Regions from separate parts of the Homo sapiens genome. Here all the other regions are linked to region 1. The links are contacts of gene promoters, found by promoter capture Hi-C in blood cells and fetal thymus (Javierre and others, 2016). All regions are on one chromosome and are shown on one strand. Each heading gives the region's core, a stretch centred on a gene start or on the middle of the fragment in contact. The rest is flanking DNA. Distances are from core to core; before and after follow the strand shown.

What was found. Contacts are between HindIII fragments. The CHiCAGO score rates a contact against its expected background, and 5 or more counts as called.
Region 2: the fragment with the promoter of ABRAXAS2 here is called in contact with the fragment with the promoter of HMX2 in region 1 in 1 of 17 cell types (neutrophils); the score reaches 5.6 in neutrophils.
Region 3: a contact is called between a fragment that was not itself captured here and the fragment with the promoter of HMX2 in region 1, in 5 of 17 cell types (neutrophils, activated CD4 T cells, fetal thymus and 2 more). The highest score is 16.2, in neutrophils.
Region 4: a contact is called between a fragment that was not itself captured here and the fragment with the promoter of HMX2 in region 1, in 1 of 17 cell types (activated CD4 T cells). The highest score is 6.3, in activated CD4 T cells.

The regions. Positions count from the first base shown.
Region 1 is chr10:123,146,784-123,149,631 of GRCh38, forward strand. HMX2 (H6 family homeobox 2) reads left to right here and starts at 1,353. Exons shown (of 2, transcript NM_005519.2): 1 at 1,353-1,863; 2 at 2,787-2,848. The coding sequence starts at 1,596. RefSeq lists silencers at 1,223-1,542, 1,933-2,062. The HindIII fragment of the contact is 9,748 bases long and covers 64-2,848 here.
Region 2 is chr10:124,800,310-124,803,157 of GRCh38, forward strand. ABRAXAS2 (abraxas 2, BRISC complex subunit) reads left to right here and starts at 1,510. Exons shown (of 9, transcript NM_032182.4): 1 at 1,510-1,592. The coding sequence starts at 1,521. RefSeq lists enhancers at 1,109-1,663, 1,336-1,605, 1,664-2,217 and a silencer at 1,706-1,785. The HindIII fragment of the contact is 5,454 bases long and covers 954-2,848 here.
Region 3 is chr10:124,458,724-124,461,571 of GRCh38, forward strand. No RefSeq gene overlaps it. Among named protein-coding and RNA genes, the nearest start is that of LHPP, 1.7 kb to the right of the region's middle. The HindIII fragment of the contact is 2,693 bases long and covers 253-2,848 here.
Region 4 is chr10:121,922,548-121,925,395 of GRCh38, forward strand. ATE1 (arginyltransferase 1) reads right to left here. Exons shown (of 12, transcript NM_001001976.3): 2 at 1,719-1,782. Among named protein-coding and RNA genes, the nearest start is that of ATE1, 4.1 kb to the right of the region's middle. The HindIII fragment of the contact is 223 bases long and covers 1,488-1,710 here.

The sequences.
Region 1 (2,848 bases), core at 103-2,602:
CACAGCTTGAGGGGACGGGGTTGCCTGAGCACTTCGGGCCTTGCCTCACTTCAGTTTCCAGGAAGCTTGTGCAGACGACTGTGGCCCCAAACCGCTTTGCTTGGCTGGGCTAATTCTAGCTCGGGTAACAGCTGATCTAGGAATTAAAGGGGCGAGAGCCAGGGCACAGAAGGGGGCTATGAGAACACAGAGGGAATCACTATTTACTGAGCACCACGGTGTGCCAGGCTCGGTGCTGGGTAGTTTGACCTCACAACAGCCTCTGCGAGGGAGGCACTGCTTCCTCCAATTTTAGGAATAAAGAAACCGAGCCTCAGAATTTCCAAATGTCTTCCCCCAAGATCACCCAGCCGAGAATTGAGTCGAGTCTGCTCAATTCTAAAACCGAGTCCTGTCACCAGTTCCTTATCTTCTTCCTGGGAGTAAGGCGTCTATTTCTGCAGCAGTTCGGAAACCTTCAAAATTTACAAAACAAAAACACAGATTCGCTTAAAACACGGGTGGGCCATGGGCTACCCGGCCAGGTTTATGGAGTACCTACTATGCGCTGCTAGTGCTTCGAGGCTTTTAATCCCTACCTGAGGCAATCCGAGAAGTTATTTTCAACTATGAGGGCAGAGAGGCTTTAATCGGCATGAGTTGTGCAAGTTCATGCAGTGTGTAAATAGTTGTGCCGGAATTTGAACCCAGATCTCTTGACTAGAGGTCTTAGGGCTTCCTCCCTCCCCCTAAAGATTCTGTAGGTCCGTAGAACCTGTGACAGGGATGAGGTCTGCAGACGGGGAAGGGGAATGTCTGCTCCCAAGGCTCCTGGCCATGCTGGAGAGGATGAGCGTCCGCCTGGAGACGCCTGCTCCTAACCCACCTCACCCCCACGCAGGGCGCCACGGTCCCAGGAGTGCCGGCTTTGCCCGCCCACTGGGGCTAGAAGGGGTGGAGGGCTGGGGGAGGATGGTGGAGCAGCCTGTACAAGCCCCTGGGAGGCGCGGAGACCCGTCGCCTGCGGAGGCGTCGAGCCACTCCAGCTCCGAGTCCCGCACCGCCCCTGCCTCTGGAGAGAAGGGTCCAAGGGGTCCAAGGAGTCGGAGTTGCCGCAGCCGCCAGGAACCCGGGCTAGAATCTGCAGCTGCTTTCAGCCCTGGCTGCCCCTGGTTAGACGCCGCTGATGCCCGCCAGGCCCTCGGCGCGCTCTGGGGGCGCACCGGTGCTGTGTGCCTGGCCGGAGCGTTTTGAAATTTTCCGGGGCCGCTCGGCGGCGCTGCGATTGGCCGCGTTCGGGTAACCTCTATGCAAATGAGGCCGCGCCGCCTCCGCGCCGCCGGAGACCCGGCGAGTTGGCGGGCGAGGAAGGGGCATTTGCACCGGGGCTGGGCGGGCGCACCCAGAGCCAGGCGGGCAGGAACCCCTGCGCAGCCATCCGGTGCCTGCATGTCCCTGGCGCGGAAGGGACGCCTCACCAGCCTCGGCGCCCCCTCCCCCTAGATTTCCTCCCCGCCCCTCCCCACTGCCTGCCTGCTGCACCACCTTCCACCCAGATCACCCAGATCGTCTCTAAAGGGAGTTCTTGGTTTCCTTCGATTTCTTATGAACCCAGGATGGGCAGCAAAGAAGATGCGGGCAAGGGGTGTCCGGCGGCCGGTGGCGTCTCCAGCTTCACCATCCAGTCCATCCTGGGCGGGGGCCCCTCGGAGGCACCGCGGGAGCCCGTCGGCTGGCCAGCCAGGAAGCGCAGCCTGTCCGTGTCCTCGGAGGAGGAGGAGCCGGACGACGGCTGGAAGGCGCCCGCCTGCTTCTGCCCAGACCAGCACGGCCCTAAGGAGCAGGGCCCCAAGCACCATCCCCCCATCCCTTTTCCTTGCCTGGGTAAGGATCGCACGTCGCCAGTGTGGCAGCGAGCGAGCGCGAGGGGAGGGAGGCTGAGCGCCCCGCCAAGACTCCCGCGCCGGGCCCCCTCTGGCCAGAGCTGCGGCAGCCGGGGGTTCGGGACCGCGGGGAGAGGGGCGCGCACTGTGGTGCCTCCTCCGCCCGGTGGGCCCCTGGGAGCAGGCGAACACAGACCCGTGCCGGCTTGGGCTTCCTGGGGAAGGTTGAGTTGTTGAGAGAGTGGACCACAGCGAGAGGGACACGCGGCCGGCCTTACACCCGGCTGTCCTCAATCACTGCACATCTGGTACTTTCTTTCCGGACACGAGGTGGAGATCTGCAAGTCGGGTCTGGGCAGTCTGTCTCCACCGTAATCTCTTTCTGAGTCTTCTTCCTCACTCGCTCCGTATCTCTGCCTTTCTCTCTCTCTCCTCCTTGGAATGATTAGCACTCCAAGATGATTGACAATGGTGCATTTCAGAGACGGTTCCTCTTTACAACATTTGACGAAGGGGAGTCCTGCGTTAGTCCTTAGCGTGATTTCCAAACAAACGGCCTGTGAAATGATGCCACCCTATAAAGCTCGAGGAACTCTTCCAGCTCAATTACCACCAAGCAAATTCGCCTTTTAAAACCATGCTAATGTTTCCCCCTCCAGACCTCCTCTCCCTGTTGCCCCTGGCCCATTCATAAAGGTGGGAGCACAGAGACCCCATACTCCAAGTAGCTGGGTCCCTCTCTTGTCGCTTTTAAAGGACGGGGTGCTGGGTTTGGGGGGCCAGTGAGAGGGATAAGAGGAGGGGATTGGTAAGGTGGGACCAAGGCTGCAGGCGCTTGCCAACCGCTTGGTCCCAGGGAGAGCTGGCGGTCTCCGAGGCTCCCCAACCAACTCCATGGCCTTTCTGTCTGTTCTCGCTCCTCAGGTACCCCCAAGGGCAGCGGAGGCTCGGGCCCGGGCGGCTTGGAGCGCACGCCTTTCCTCTCT
Region 2 (2,848 bases), core at 260-2,759, 1.7 Mb after region 1:
AGCTGAGATTACAGGCATGCACCAGAATGCCCGGCTAGTTTTTGTATTTTCAATAGAGATGGGCAGAGGGGAGTGGGCAGGGTCTCACCATGTTGGCCAGGCTGGTCTTGAACTCCTTGTCAGGCCTCTGAGCCCAAGCTAAGCCATCATATCCCCTGTGGCCTGCACGTATACATCCAGATGGCCTGAAGTAACTGAAGAATCACAAAAGAAGTGAAAATGACCGGTTCCTGCCTTAACTGATGACATTACCTTGTGAAATTCCTTCTCCTGGCTTAGAAGCTCCCCGACTGAGCACCTTGTAACCCCCGCCCCTTCCCACCAGAGAACAACCCCCTTTGACTGTAATTTTCCACTACCTACCCAAATCCTATAAATCGGCCCCACCCCTATCTCCCTTGCTGACTCTCTTTTCGGACTCAGCCCGCCTGCACCCAGTTGAAATAAACAGCCTTGTTGCTCACACAAAGCCTGTTTGGTGGTCTCTTCACACAAACGCGCATAACACTCCTGACCTCAGGTTAACACTCCCCACACACGCCCCCCCCTCCCAAAGTGCTGGGATTACAGGCATGAGCCACCGCGCCCGGCCTCAAATGTTGGCTTTTTGTTTTGTTTTGTTTTTGAGACGGAGTCTTGGTCTGTCACCCAGGCTGGAGTGCAGTGGCGCGATCTCGGCTCACTGCAAGCTCCGCCTTCCAGGTTCACGCCATTCTCCTGCCTCAGCCTCCTGAGTAGCTGGGACTACAGGAGCCCGCCACCACGTCCGGCTAATTTTTTGTATTTTTAGTAGAGACGGGGTTTCACCGTGTAAGCCAGGATGGTCTCAAACTCCTGACCTCGTGATCCGCCCACCTCGGCCTCCCAAAGTGCTGGGATTACAGGCGCGAGCCACCACGCTCAGCCTAAATGTTGGCCTTTTTTTTTTTTTTTTTTTTTTTTTTTTGAGACGAAGCTTCGCTCTTGCTGCCCAGGCTGGAGTGCAATGGCACGATCTCGACTCACCGCAACCTCCGCCTCCCGGGTTCAAGCCATTCCCCTCCCTCAGCCTCCCGAGTAGCTGAGATTACAGGCATGTGCCACCACGCCCGGCTAGTTTTTGTATTTTCAATATAGACAGGGTTTCTCCATGTTGGTCAGGCTGGTCTCGAACTCCTGACCTCAGGTGATCCGCCCGCCTCGGCCTCCCAAAGTGCTGGGATTACAGGCGTGAGCCACTGCGCCCGGCTAGAATGTTGTCTTTTAATACTAAGGTTTCACTTGCAAAGGGAAAGAACTGTTTGCGGAACTATCAACCGCTGTCTGAGGCGTGTCGGGAGCGACACCCCTGCGGAGGATACGGTGCCGGGGTCCTTCCGATCGCAAAAACCGGCGTTCCTCAGCCTTCAAGACTGTGAGCGCTCAGGGCCCTCGGCCGCTGCCCGCCGCAGACTCCACTTCCCATGATGCCAAGGGGTCGGGCCGTCCGGAAGGCCGTGTGCCCTCCGCGGGGCATGATGGGGTAGCTGGAGATTTCCATCATGGCGGCGTCCATTTCGGGCTACACCTTCAGTGCTGTGTGTTTCCACAGCGCCAACAGCAACGCGGACCACGTAGGTGCCGGGCCCCCTGCCGCGCCCGCTGGGGGCTTTCAGCCTCTGTCTCAGGCCGGCGCTCGCGGCCAAGCCGGGACCTCATGCGGCTCGCCCCCTGGGCACCAGGGCCGGCCGGAGGAGCTGGTGACCCGGGCGGCTCCCGCCCCCGGTGAGCTCTTGCCTCTGGGGGCTCCTTCGCCCCTGGGACAGGCCCCCTGGCTTCGCGCTCTCAGCCGCTCGGCCGTCCCGGCACAGCCGTCTCCCGTGCAGCAAAACTGTCCCACCTGGCCTCCTGCAGTGTCAGGAGTCGCTCGGTGGAAACCGAGCGCCTGCCCCTCCCTGAAAGTCAGGCTTCTAGACTTAAGAGGGGCGCACGGGGTCGGGAAGGAATCTAAAGGCCGGGCGTTTAGTCCAGTAGGCGAGGTACTCAGCCCCGCCCGCCGGTCTCGCAGGTTGTCGTGGGGGTGCTGCGAGTGAAACCGTGGCTGTCACTACTGATACTTGTTAGACACGGTTGTGTGTTTTCTTCGCCCTGATGCAAAATGGAGAATGTATACAGGAGCGTTCGGTGCAGGGTCTATTTTGTATTTCCTTGAAGTTGCGTGTTTAGTTCTTTGTGACTAGTTCTTTCACTAGTCACAGTGAAATAGGGAAGTGACAGGCCCACTACTGAGTGATGGGAAATGCATAGGCTGTGAGCCCACAGGAGGAGCAGATCCTGTCTGTTTCAGTGTCTTTATTTTACAAATTGTCTTTTAACGTCATTGGCCTCTGATTGGAAATGCTTTGTGAAACTAGATCACTTCTCTCTTAAAGGAGGTATATAATTTGGCCACCAAATTGGGGGATTATTTTAAGTGATGTTAATAGTGAATGATTCAAACTCATTAAACCTATGTGTGGGGTTTTTGGTTGTCATTACAAAGCAAAATGGTACACTGCAGAAGGAGGAACTGCATTTGGTTTGATGTCAGCAATCTTAGCTTCCATTAATAAAAACTGATTTCACAGGGAGGTGATTCCATTAGTAAATTGAATGCAATTAAATTATTGTACCTTTCATCTCTTCAGTGTTGATGGTAGAACTTAATGATAGGAATAGGAATATATACATCATGGGTTTTTCCAGAAGCAGCTTTGAAGACTATGGCCTAGGGTACTACAACCAGCTATTTAATAATGTAATATAGTTCCATATGTAAGGGTTTGTGATACCCCTAGTGTCCATGGACTATTAAAAATGGGTCCTTTATTTCTTGAATGCCTACTAATAT
Region 3 (2,848 bases), core at 349-2,848, 1.3 Mb after region 1:
ACTGGCAGCCGAAGAGTCCTGACTATGACAAGCAAATCTGAAAGGATGAGGCATATGTCTAGTATAGCAATAGATGGTTGATAGATTCATAGTTGAGCTGAAATTCAGACATGAGTTGTAGATTTGCTATAACAGGCTGAAAGCTCAGTCAGTGGTGTATGCTTCCTGGCACACTATGGTGTTCATGTGCCACCTGGCTAGCTCTGGCCCAAAAGATGCAAATGAGAGTCCATTGGATCAGGGTTCTGGGAAAGCTTTTGCTTTCTGGGTATAAAGGGTCAGACTCAGCTGTCACATGCCCTTTTTTCTTTTCTTTCCCCTCCTTCCTGCCTGAAATGCAGTCATGATGCCTCGGGTGGAGCAGGAATCTTGCTAGCGTGAGGAGCAGGCCACATGCTGAGAGAGTGGTGGAGCAGAAAGCAGGAGGCAGCCTGATGGTCCTGGGAGCTGTTGTCCCATCCAGGATTTCCTCCCTCTTGGCTTCTTGATATATGAGGAAAAGTAAAATCTGATTTGGTTGGGCAACTATGGCTGGGTTTCTGTTACATGTAGCCAAATGCAACCCTAACATAGACAATGCCCTACACTCATTGCATCCCAAGAAAAGCCTGGAATTTTCAGATCAAGTTTTAGCCTATCAGTGGCCCACACTTAGAGACTTGCCACATTTTTCAGGTGAGGGACCTGGATCCCTGTATTTGTTTCTTGTCACTACTGCAAGAAATTACCATATACTTAGTGGCTTAAAACAACAGATTTATTATTATAGTTCTGGAGGTAAGAAGTCCTAAACTTGAAGTACCAGCAGGGCTGCATTCCTTCTGGAGGCTCTAGGGGAGAATCCAATTCTTTGCCTTTTTTAGCTTCCAGAGGCCACCTGCATTTCTTGGCTCATGGCCCCTTTGTATTCAAGGCCAGTAGCACGGTATCTTCACACCTCTCTCTCTGACCTCTGCTTCTGCTGTCACACCTCCTTCTCTGACTCTGACTCTCTCCTGCTTCCCTCTTTCCCTTATGAGGACTCATGTCATTATACTGGGCCCACCTGGACCATCCAGGATAATCTCCCTACAGGAGCATAGGCTCTGCAAGATCTAAGTCCCTTTTGCCATGTCAGGTAATATATTTAGAGGTTGTGGGGATTGGGAGGTGGACATCTCAAGGGGGCACTATTCTGTCTACTGTAGTCGTAGAAATGAAAAGGGACTTGCCCAAGAGTACCCACAGAGCTGACTGAAAAGAAACAACTATGGGTAGGCTCACACCACTGGCAGAAGCACCCCTTTTCCTCCTCCTTGGCATGAAGCTAAAGCCCAGCCATTCTCCAAGGTCCATTTCAGGCTGCCCCTGCCCAGAAGCCACAGCTGCCCTCCTAGGCCTGCAGAGGTCATCCTCTTGACTGTGTCTGTGTCACTCATTGCCACTTGGCACACATTTGGTCAGCAGTCGTGAAGGTCTTCCATTGTTCTCTGCCCAGTCTTGATCCTGGAAGGCAAGGATCACACCCTAGAACTTTTTTGTGCCCACTGCACAGAGTAGGGTCTCAATACGTGTACGGTTCATGATGTTCCTAGCAGATTCTCCAAACTGACTCACTCAGCCCCTGGAACACTAAAAACTGCATTTCCCAGACTCCTTTGCAGCGTGGGCTAGGTTCCACCAAGCCAGACACAGTGAAAGTGAGTGGGTGGCCACAGGTGGAGGGCACAGTGGTGGATATGTTTTGTTCTTTTGGGGGCAGCTATGCTGGGGGCTGCACTAAGTGATGGGGCAGTGGTCCCAATGGAGTAGTAAAATTAAGTGTTTCTCGTGGCTGCATGGCTCCTGGCTGTGTAGGACTTAGACCCGTCATCTGTAAGCTCCTTCACCTCATGTAAACAAAACCCCTCTAGCTGGAGTGGTGTCTATTGTCTGCGACTAAGAACCCTTATATAAGGTATACTACTCCCCAACCCCATTAGTGGAAATCCCAAAGGGTAGGAACTGTATTTTATTTCACTTGTAAACAGCTCCCCTAGTAAGCATGTCAACAAAATATACACAATTCATTGAACCCCATAACATTTCAACGAATTCCTCATCCTTTCTGTGAATCAAGAGCCTGAAAAGAAATGGTGAAATAATATGATCCTCTCTTCTTTGAAAGCTCAAAGCTATGTTGGACCAGAAGTAAAGTGTTCTCGTTTCTATTTAATAACTTGAAAGGTTCCGAGGGGCCATTGAGGAAACTCCTCCCTTTTAATATCAATGTGTATTTATTGCAAAAATAATGTAGCATCGAGTGGTATTTTATAGCTTATCCAAAAACCTCCTGGGTTTAACGCATTGTGATAGTCCCGTTTTCTTCTCAGCCCAGGTCCTATGCATCCTCATCTATGCAGGGCTGTTATCTGCATATAATTTTTTTTTTTTTTAAGACAAAGTCTTGCTCTGTCGCCCCGGCTGGAGTGCAGTGGTGCAATCTCGGCTCACTGCAACCTCCGCCTCCCAGGTTCAAGCGGTTCTTCCGCCTCAGCCTACCGAGTAGCTGGGACTACAGGCATGCGCCACCACACCTAGGTGATTTTTGTATTTTTAGTAGAGACAGGGGTTTCACCATGTTGACCAGGCTGGTCTCGAACTCCTGATCTCAAGCGATCCACCCGCCTCAGCCTCCCAAAGTGCTGGGATTACAGGCATAAGCCACTACGCCCGGCCTCAATTTTGTATTGTACTTTTTCTTTCTTTCTTTAATAGAGACAGGGTCTCACTATGTTGACTAGGTTGGTCTAGAACTCCTGGGCACAAGCTGTCCGCCCGCTTCTGCCTCCCAAAGTGCTGGGATTGCAGGCGTGAACCACCGCCCCTG
Region 4 (2,848 bases), core at 349-2,848, 1.2 Mb before region 1:
ATAAGCCAAATAATCTTCAAAGTGCGTGTAGCAAAGTTTAGAACCCTGCCTTTTATTTCCTAAAGCTTTACTTGTGTACCCCACGGCCAATCATCTCAGTTCCCCTCTCACCAGCATCTGCCACCCCTGCTCTGCCTTCACCTGCCACCAATCCCCAATACCACAAGGGCAATGAGAGAAATGCCCACGATGCTGTGGGACTCATGTATGTGATGCCTGTGACAACCACACTTGGGTATTCCACATGCACCAGCACGGAGTACCCCAAAACTAACCCGCTTCTTTCCATGCATTCCAGGTCTATGGTACTAACAGAACTGTTCATTCTGTTCTCAAGTCAGAGACCTGGGAGTCATTTTAAACTCCTCCCTGGAATTCACCTCTATATCCTATTAGCAAGCTTTCCTTCATTTTAAACCCTATCCTAAATTGTCCCCTCTTCTCTATCACCATTGCCACTAAGGTGACAGTCCTCATCATCGCACATCTGGATAGCGCAATAACCTTTGAACTCATCTTCCTGCCTCTATGACCCCCCCTCAAATACCTCTCAGCCATCTGAACAATCTTTTCTAAAACAAATTCCTTCACATTTCTCTCTTACCATAAAATCCTTCCATGACTGCCTTCTAAAAAGTTCTGGCCAGGCATGGTGGTTCATACCTATAATCCCAACACTTTGAAAAGCTAAGCTGGAAGAACACTTGCAACCAGATGTTCGAGACCAGCACGGGCAACATAGCCAAGATCTTACAAAAAACTGAAAAATTAGCCAGGTGTTGTGATGCACACCTGTAGTCCTAGCCACTGCAGAGGCTGAGGCAAGAGGATCACTTGAGTGTGGGAATTTGGGGTTACAGTGAGCTATGATGATGGCACTGTACTCTAGCCTGGGCAAGAGAGCGACTCTAGCCTGGGCAACAGAGCGAGACCATGTCTCTAAAAAAAAAAGTTCCTTATCATGGCATGTGAAGTCCTTTAAAATCTGACCTATGTCTACCTTTTGAATCTCATTAAGTTTAAGGAAAGTTGTGATATTTCAGCTGGTGCTCCCAATCCCACGTCTTTGGCAAGTATTAGCGTACAGTATTTAATATTACTTATATTTACACAAGGAACTTTACCTAAGAGTTACTTAAAAATCATCCACATAAAAATAACTACTCAAAACAGGCCATGTGTGGACTTTAAGGAAATCCTTATCCAAATAAACTGTTAAAGAAGACATTTTTGAGACAATCTGGAAAATCTAATAAAAAGTAGGTAACAGGTAACATCAAAGAATTTTTATTAATTTTGTAAGGTGTGATACAGCATTGTGGATAAGTTAAAAAGAAAAAAAGACCTCTCTCTTAGAGATACATACTTATTGCCTATCTATTGATAGGATAAATGTCATAATAACCTACTGATGTAATTTGCTGTTAAATATTAAAAGGTGGAGCAGGAGAATCAAACATGATTGGCAGAACGTTAATAACTGCTGAAGCTTAGTGATAGGTACTTGAGGTTCATTCTAATGTACTCTCTGCTTTTATAGATATTTGACATTTTCCTAACAAAGTTTTTTAAAAAGGAGACAAAAAATCACTACATAAAAGAATATAATAAAAATTTTTCTTAAACCTCTTTCCAACAGGAAAGCATTTCAAAGGCATGCTGTATTTTTCAAGAACCTGAGTAACAGTAGGAAGTCTCTTTGTATCTGGAAGCTTTACCTTCGCCATCCTCGGTCTATGAGATCCTGATAATCCTGTACTGTCATGGAATGTGCCCACATGCCTGAAAAAATAAGTAGTGTGTTAATTACGGCAGGGTAACCTTTTTTCTTTTTTAAATTCAAAGTGTGAGGTTTAAAAATAGGAGTGTGTGTCCGGGCACGGTGGCTCATGCCTGTAATCCCAGCACTCTGGGAGGCCAAGGCGGGCAAATCACAAGGTCAGGAGTTCAAGACCAGCCTGGCCAACATGGTGAAACCCCATCTCTACTAAAAATACAAAAATTTAGCTGGGCATAGTGGCGGGCGCCTGTAATCCCAGCTACTCAAGAGGCTGCAGCAGGAGAATCACATGAACTCGGGAGGCGGAGGTTGCAGTGAGCCAAGATCACGCCACTGCACTCCAGCCCTGGCGACAGAGTGAGACTCCATCTCAAAAAAAAAAAAAAAAATAGGAGTGTTTAGGTTAAAATTCCAAAACACTCATATTGGATAAATGAAAAGTTTGTACATACTTCACAGCTGTTAGTTGGGCATACACACAGCACAAATAAAGAATGACACTATATATATTTTCATTCAAAAAAACACATCGAAGTTAATTATATTTATTTGAGGATTAGTCAATAGTCTCTATGACAGCATAAATTTAAGTCCTCACTGCAATCAGACTGCATCAGACCTTCAAACTTTAATAAATATCCCCAATGATTTAACATGCTGGTCTCTTCAGAAAACTTAGCAAAATGTTTTGTGCTTATTAGTTCTCCTGATTTATATACAGGTATATATTTACAGTACAGTCTTGAGCATCAAAAATTGGAGAAAAGTATGTAACAATATTCCTTCTAAGTGTAAGAACTGAAAGTAACTCAGCTGGGCACAGTGGCTCACGCCTGTAATCCCAGCACTTTTGGAGGCCAAGATGGGCAGATCATCTGAGGTCAGGAGTTTGAGACCAGCCTGGCCAACATGGTGAAACCCCATCTCTACTAAAAACACAAAATTAGCCGGGAATGGTGGCACATGCCTGTAATCCCAGCTACTTGGGAGGCTGAGGCAGGAGAATCGCTTGAACCCAGGAGGCGGAGGTTGCAGTGACTCGAGATCGAGCCATTGCACTCCACACTC